3 separate regions of the Homo sapiens genome follow, and regions 1 and 2 are each linked to region 3. Evidence: promoter capture Hi-C in 16 types of primary human blood cells and fetal thymus (Javierre and others, 2016). All regions are on one chromosome and are shown on one strand. Each heading gives the region's core, a stretch centred on a gene start or on the middle of the fragment in contact. The rest is flanking DNA. Distances are from core to core; before and after follow the strand shown.

Evidence for each region. Contacts are between HindIII fragments. The CHiCAGO score rates a contact against its expected background, and 5 or more counts as called.
Region 1: a fragment that was not itself captured here is called in contact with the fragment with the promoter of GPRIN3 in region 3 in 5 of 17 cell types (naive CD8 T cells, activated CD4 T cells, naive CD4 T cells and 2 more); the score reaches 7.3 in naive CD8 T cells.
Region 2: a fragment that was not itself captured here is called in contact with the fragment with the promoter of GPRIN3 in region 3 in 1 of 17 cell types (naive CD4 T cells); the score reaches 5.6 in naive CD4 T cells.

The regions. Positions count from the first base shown.
Region 1 is chr4:89,416,618-89,419,317 of GRCh38, reverse strand. No RefSeq gene overlaps it. Among named protein-coding and RNA genes, the nearest start is that of GPRIN3, 110 kb to the right of the region's middle. RefSeq lists an enhancer at 1-354. The HindIII fragment of the contact is 264 bases long and covers 1,233-1,496 here.
Region 2 is chr4:89,396,239-89,398,938 of GRCh38, reverse strand. No RefSeq gene overlaps it. Among named protein-coding and RNA genes, the nearest start is that of GPRIN3, 90 kb to the right of the region's middle. The HindIII fragment of the contact is 2,669 bases long and covers 1-2,641 here.
Region 3 is chr4:89,306,483-89,309,182 of GRCh38, reverse strand. GPRIN3 (GPRIN family member 3) reads left to right here and starts at 1,383. Exons shown (of 2, transcript NM_198281.3): 1 at 1,383-1,568. RefSeq lists silencers at 1,304-1,373, 1,384-1,433. The HindIII fragment of the contact is 16,857 bases long and covers 1-2,700 here.

The sequences.
Region 1 (2,700 bases), core at 115-2,614, 110 kb before region 3:
ATATTGAGTCACAGTAGAAGGAAAGTGAATCCTAAAAGCCTCTAACTTCATGTAAAAGGATTTAGATCATCTCTTAGAAGTTCACAGTATGATCAGGGGATTTTGAAAAGTCTGGAACAACTAACTTCTAAATTATTAGCAATTCAAAAAGAAGTCATCAGGGACTGAATTTTTAAAAGGCTTGCTGAGTAACAGTGAATATTCATCTGAAATTAGTGCAGAGTGATTTAGTGTCACTGTAGCTAAGATATCCCTCATTAGCACTAGCAACTCTAAAAAAAGAACTGAGAGAGTGATAACTTAAGATTAGCTGCAGGAAGGGATGGCAAAAAGGCTGGGGTATGGGTGAGTGCTATGGTCTGAATGTTTGTGGTCTCACAAAATTCCTGTTAAAACTTCATCCCCAGTGCAATAGTATTAAGAGGTAGGATCGTTGGGTGGTGATGAGGTCATGAGATGGAGCCCTTATGAACGAGATTAGTGCCCTTATAAAAGAGCCCAAGGGAGCTTCTTTACCCTTCCACCATGTGAGGACATAGCTAGAAGGGACCATCTATAAGGAGCAGGCCCTCGCCAGCCACTGAATCTGCTGGCATCTTGATTTTGGATTTCACAGCCTCCAGAAGTATGAGAAATAAATTTCTGTTGTTTATAAGTTACCCAGCATATGGTATTTTGTTATTAGCAGGCTGAACAGATTAAGAAGGCCTGCTCTACACTGGGGAGAAATGCACTGGAAAGGTTGTTCATTGGGTTTCTGCAGCATATCTGTTCACAATGAGAAGAAAGAGGATCTTATGAAGAGAACTTGCACCATTTCTTGTGACTTGTATTTATTACATATCAATAAACAGAATGCTTGGGGAAAATCAGTCAGGTACAAGTTTGGCTATCCTTAACTAAATTCTGAGCCCTATTTTTCCCTAAATCAATTGACTATTAAATGTCAGGCATATAGTTCTGTATCAACTTAGGAGATGGAGAGGGATGGGAGGTTGAAAATAGGAGCTAATTCTGAAACGGATTCCTCTGCTTCTGTTCCAGAGTAATTGTTGAATCTTCTTTCTGCTACTTTACAATAGACGTATTGATTAATACATCTTTTAATTTATTTAAAGTCGCATTGTTTAAATCTTGAGAAACATCTTGAAATGAAAAAAAATTCTGCTTATTCATTGCTATTGTTTAGCGTTCCAATTATCTATTGCTGTGTAGAAAACCACCATAAAGCTTAGTGGCTTAAAGTAAAAAGACTTATTTTATTCCCAAATCTGCAGTTTAAGCAGGATTAGGTAGTGATATCTTGGCCTCAACTAGAATGGCTCAAATGCAAGGATCTGGAAACATCAGATGATTTGCTCACTTCCATGTTTGACAGTCAGTATTAGCTGTTAGCCAGGACAATAGCTGGCTTGTCAACCAGAACATATACATGTGGGCCCTCCATGTGGCCTCTGCTTCCTCACAACATGGTGGCTGAATTCTAAGGGCAAGCTTCCCAAGAGTGAGAGAACCACGCAGACGCTGTACGACTTTTTCTGCCTGAACCTCACAAGCATTACTTTCACTGCATTTTATTCACAGGGGTGGTCAAAAAGGTCCACCCAAGGTCAAGAGAGAAGAGTAGAGAAACAGACACACTGTGTCACTCATACACATTCTTTTAATCTACGTGGTCACAAGGCCTTCCTAGTGTCAATGGGAAAGGAAATAGACTCTTCTTCTTGACAGAGGAATGGTAAAGTTCTAGAACACTTTGTCCTGGGAATATTGCTTTGGCCATTTTTGGAAAATACAGTTTGCCACATTTAGCAATCTGCTTTTCAAAAATAGTAAAGTATGAAAAGTAAGATCCAATTTCACTTAATTACAGAGGAAAGAAAATCTAAAAACTTTCTCAAATGGAAGCAGAGAAACGAGTATTATTACCTTTCTTCTGCAAACCACAAATTTCCTGAAGTTTTGCATCAATGGGAATTTTATTCTAGCAGTCAAATGTAGAGTTTGACCCTAGAATTTTATAAGCGCATCTCAGAGCACAATCTGAGGATATAAGTAAAATGTTCTTCTGTTTGAAGCCTATTTTAGAAATAAGAAAGAGATGAATCACTAAATAGCTTATGGTAATGTTTTTATTGATTCATGACTCACCACACGCTCCTACCATTCAGGCAAAAAATAATGTCTTCCTTGTAGGTGATTTGCTCTATTAGACCTCATGGGGAAAAAGAGTTCTTTGCTTTATATCTTACTCTGACAAGCAATGGTTTTTGTCCTGCTTTTGAAAAGTAACTAAGATGCTAACTTGGGAAAGTGCATTAACTTTTCAAGCTCTACCAATTCCATTTATGAAATTATATCTACTCATGCATTATCTTAAAGAGTTAATGCTCTTTATAATTATAAGGAAGTTACTGAGAAAACCTAGGCCTCCCAGTATACACGGGGTGCCATGAGAGACACCATAGATCCATTCTGGGAAGTTATGCTCAGGATTAGAAAGATGGGCCAGAAAACCTCTGAAGTGCCTAAGCATCTTTGCCCAGTATCAAAACCAGAGGATGACTACCTACATCTCAAAATGTCGTACTTTTATTCATACTATTTCCTCTCCACTGAGAGAAACCTACTCCCAGCTCAACCATCATCACTTTCAGGAATCCACTGAAAGCCTCTCCCTCCTTCTCCAAAATTATAATC
Region 2 (2,700 bases), core at 58-2,557, 90 kb before region 3:
ATATCAGACAATAGCTCATGCATCTTTGCCTCTTGAAGCAATCAGCCTACCCTTCTATTAATATGCATGAACTAGCTCTGCTCCTATCCAAGGCCAACTCTTGCACTTGTGTTCTAGAGCCCTCTCCTTTTGTTTTTAAGGACTCTGTTCCTGCAATTACTTCCTATCTTGCATCAGTTTCTGCCTCTCTAATAAATTATTGCCATTTATCTAAAACATGTTGAATATTTCCTCTCTTTAATAAAAAAAACCTCAACCCACTGCAGCTTCTGTCCCATTTCTTAGCTCCTTTCACAGCACAGCTTCTTCCTTAAAGAGCAGTCCAGAAGCACCGGCTTTTGCTTCTCCACCCCATATCCTCTCTTCAGCCTTTCTGCCCCTACCAGTCTACTATGCCTGCTCTAATCAAGGTTACTGATGACCTCTATGTTTATAATGACCACTCTTTTATTTTTGAAAGTGCTTTTATTTTTGGTTACAGAAAAAACGCACTTCCTAGTTTTCCTCTCCCCTCACAGCTCACCCCTTCTGAGTCTCCTTTGCTCTCTTTTTATTCCTTGATAAACGCCAAATGCTGACATCACCCAGCACGGTGCAACTGTCTGGATCCCCCGCTTTTTTTGTCTATCCACACACTGTTTCTTTGTGCCTTCTTCCAAGCTGATCATTTTAGATACCATCAATTAGTGATGATTCTCAAAACTACTCCTCTAGCTTTGCTCTGTTTCTGGAGCTACAGATTTATATGTCTAAATCCTACTCCATATCTAAATAAGTTTTTCTAGTAAATAGCTCAAAACTGACACAGCTCAAAAATGACTATTTATTTGTTTTTTCCACAAACTTCTTTCACTTCAAAATTCCCCAGTAAATGATATGGCCATCTACCCAGTTTCTGGAGTCCGAAACCTAGGCATGCTTCTTCATGCTCCACATTCAATCCATCAAGTCCTGTTGAGTCTACCACCAAAACCCATCCCACATCATCCACTCCTTTCCATATCCATTATCACCCTGTCTCCCCCTAACTGATCTCTTGCTTTTTCCCTTGCTCCTTTATAATCCCCTCTACAATTCTCCATATAGTAGTCAGAGGGGATATGCAATGTAAATCAGATCATGTCATCCCATTCCTTTTTAATCCTTAGTGATTTCCCACCTTCAAAAGAAAACCCAAACTCCTGAGCTGCCTTATAAAGAACCACATGCTTGTCTACCTCTGTGACCTCCTTGACTTTTCTCTCCCTTCCTCCTTGCACCTGCCAACATGAGTCATCCTTAAACATCTCATGTCCACTTTCTGGCTTATGACATTTGCACTTATTTCTTCTATGTGGAAAACTTTTTCCTTGATCTTTTCACACTTGACTTTTCCTTTTTCTTTCAGATCATGTAACTTCTTTGGAGCAGTCCCAACTACTTAATCGAAAGTAGCTGTCCAGTCATCCTATTTTAATTTCCTGCATTATGGTTATCCTTATTTGATTTTTTTGGCTTCAGTCTTTTTTTTTTTTACTTAGTACATTTGTTTGTTTTTCTGTTAGCTGCCTTCTCACTGATGCCAAGAGAAGATAAATTACACGAATTCAAGAACCTTACTTTTCTGTTATCAGCTCTATTACTAACATCTAGAAGAGTGTCTGTTTGGCACAAAGTAGGTTCTCAATAAAATGTGTATGGTATACAAATTGTTGAGTGTCTTAGATATAAGCAAGTTTGAATTAAAATTAATGACAAATTATAGAATACTGTATTATCATTTTAAAAGAAAAATTATCACTTTCTGATTTCATCAATGAGAAAATTAATGATTGGTCATTTTTATTATGAGAAAAATGTGAACAGGCTTGCACTTATGAGGCAGCCTTAGAACACTCTAAAGGACAGTTTCTAGAACCAGTATATGACCCAGAACTTGGCTATGTCTGGGAAACTTAAGTCCATTGCAATATAAATGAGTCAAATTTACTGTCTAGTGACTACGGTTAACAGAAACTACCTTGAGAGATTTTCACCCCACCCCAGATGAAGTACCATGAACTAGACTTACCCTGCCACCTGAATCTATGGGGAAAAAAACAGACAAAATATATAAAGCAGTGTATTTCAGACATAGAACATCAGGAAGTGCAGGACAGTGATTCCTCAGAGATAAAAAAACAAAATAAGTGAGCTCTGCAGTTGCCTCTGCTGACAATTTATGGGGAATTTTTAGCCTGTGGAATAGGGAGGTCACATTTAGGTAAAGCTCATTGGTGACTTTTGAGTTGGAGAGATGGAATTGGGTGTCTGAGAAGATTAAACTACCTGTAGTTCACAGAGAAGAGTACTGGAAAGGAGACTGTTGCCTAGAGAGAGCTCTAGAGACCTGCTGAGGATGCCCCTCAAGTCTTCAGCTACTGACTACTCAACACTTGCACTTGAGAAAATAATCTCAGGCTGGGAAATCACCACAAGAAAGGAGCAGAAGGGAAATCCTGAAGCTCACACAGAGCTGGGAATAATCTGTGTTTGCACCTGCCAGAGAGGAAAACCCTCACAATTCATGGGTATAAGGTAGAATACTCAGAAGGATCTTGCCTCAGTAGTGGGCAGTATTAGCTCTAGACTAAAACCTGCTCTAATCCCACCAAACAAAGCTTGCAAGCAAGTCTCAAATTAGTAAATTAATTCCAAGTAACTTAACTGTATCCCAGAACA
Region 3 (2,700 bases), core at 134-2,633:
TGGGCCAGGCATGGCTCACGCCTGTAATTCCAGCACTTTGGGAGGCCGAGGCGGGCGGATCACCTGAGGTCAGGTGTTCCAGACCAGCCTGGCCAACGTGGAGAAACCCTGTCTCTACTAAAAATACAAAAATTAGCCGGGCGTGGTGGTGGGCGCCTGTAATCCCAGCTACTTGGGAGGCTGAGGCAGGAGAATCGCTTGACCCCGGGAAGCGGAGCTTGCAGTGAGCCGAGAGCGCGCCACTGCACTCCAGCCTAGGAGACGAAGCAAAAAACAAAAAACAACAACAACAAAAAACTAAAAAAGCGTTTCCTCAGTCCCTACCCCAGACCTATTGGATCACAATCAGCATTTTAACAAGACCCCCTAGGTGAGTCCTGTGTACTAGATGAGAGGATATATTTTGGATTGGTTTGAATCCCAGCTGAGCAGGTTACTACTGTGTGACCTCAAGCAAAGTGTTTAGATCATATAAGCCTGTTTCCTCGTCCACATGGTAAGGCACCTCAATGGGTTGTAGTAAGAATTAAAGAGGCTGAGGCTGTATGTAAGGCATTTTTCACAGAGCCTTCCAACAAATACCCAGTTAATAATGAAGCTCTTTTCATCGTATCATTTTGCACCATCTACAGCTGCTAACCATACTACACATCCATTCAGGATTCTGGAGCTGCTCAACAGGGAAGATTTCCAAAGCCCTCAAAGCCCTCCAAGCCCATGGGGTAGCGGGAAGGGGATGGGGACAGGAACACTGTCAGCAGTGCCTCTCCGAATACGCAGGATACTGTACATTTTGCAAAACATATTACTTATCGGATGATCTTGCTTTCAGATCTCCACTGCACGTGGCTTTATTGGAAACCTTCTGCTAGAGTCTAGACTCAGCCATGGAGTCTGGTGACCTGTGGGAGGGAGCAAGGGCCAGAATGCCTGCTAAATCGCTCTGGGTCCCCAGCCCTCTTCCTTAATCCCTTCTTAACTTTCCATCTGTCTCTGGTCTCCAGGGGTGCAGAACCACAACCCACCAGACCCCTCCTAGCTCCCGGCCCGGCGCTCAGCAGCCTGGGCTGCAACACTTTCCCCCAGGACCGGGAAGGCGGGGGAGGGGGTTTGGAGGGGGCGGAGCTCGGCCTCCTGCTGCCGCCGCTGCTGCTGCCGCCGCCGCCGCCTGCAAAGCTGTCGCCCCTCTCTCGGATGCTCAGGCTGGGCAGCGCTGGACAGATGGGTACACCCCGGGCCTGACGGATGAACAGTCGGGCAAGTGAACTCTCACCTCCAAACTGGCTCTGCGCCCGGCGGGGGCGGCGGCGGCGTCTGCAGCCCCGCGGTGGGGGCAGCCCCCTCGGTCTACGCCCGACTGCTGCGCGCCGCCTCTGCTCTTGGCATAGTAATTTCAGTTCCTGAACGCACGGAGCTCGCTCCGGGACCGGGCTGAGAAGGACCTCAGCTCGCGGGCCCGCCGGAGCCATCGGTGTGGCGCCGAGAGACGGTGCTTGGGATATGCGACGGGAAGCCCCCGCCACAGCGCAGGCAGTGGCCCCGCCGCGCCGCGGAGCCGGGCAGAGCAGGTAGGAGACGCCCCCTGCGCACCTCCGCCTGGCGGCCAGCGCGGGGGACCGGAGCCTGGTGGTGTGCTCTGTAGGGATGCGGAAGGGATTCGGTCCCACATTTTGCACAGGGATCCTTTGCCTGTTGCTCTTGTCTCTGTCCCATCCTGCGCTCTAGGAGGGGCAGTCTTTCTCGCAGGTGATGAATTTCTCTGCAAGGTCATTGCTCTCTTTGGCTCTGGCTTTGAAGGTAAATGGGAGAAGACGCCTGCTGATCGTGGGCAGGGAAATTTATAATCAATCGGGTCTGCACACTGCGAATATCCGAATATGAGGGGTGTGTGTGTGTGTGTGTGTGTGTGTGTGACATTTGTCTCATTTTCCTATGCTTATCCCCTTTAAGGTCAAAACATAGAAATATATATTACATATGGATGTATGTATGTGTGTGTATATACACACACATACATAAATGCATATGTAAATAGGTTTTCTTGAGGTAGGCAGAAAGAAGAGGAAGGGCGGGCAGGGGTTGATAAAGGGAAATCGTTGTAGAGACATGTTCACTAATAGAGGCGAACTTTGGAACCACATTAAATCAGGGTAGAGACTAGAGGTGATAAACGGTTCTTTCAAGATGGGCTTTAGAAGAGGTCTGAAGGAGCCTGTCAGCCAACACACACAGAAGATCTTCATGCTCTCCAGGCAGATGGAAACGATGTAGGCATCATTTCAGACGCAATAATGGACAGTGAAAGAGGGAAAAAAGGAGAGGTACTTAATATGCCACTGGGAAGTGAATTTTGGGTGATGGGAAGGCATCGAATCCAGACCAGGTTTCAAGGGCTTTCTGGAGGGCCATTGGGAGAAATCACCGCTTGGGGTGTAGGCAGTTCAAGGTTAAGACGATGTGAATGTCCACAAAGCAGCCGAGGAGGTGGGCAAAAGGCAAGGGCTTGGAGGGGGAGGGGAGAAACAGAGCTCTGAGCAGTCACTCAAGAAGCACCCACCTTTGAGTAAGGTGTCTTCTTCCTCTTGGTTAAAGCGGTACTTGGGTATGCTCCATCTAAATATTTTCACAACACATTTGTTTAAAGATCCATTGGACTATGTTTTTATTTTGTTTTTGCAAGGTATCTGGGTCATGGTGGGA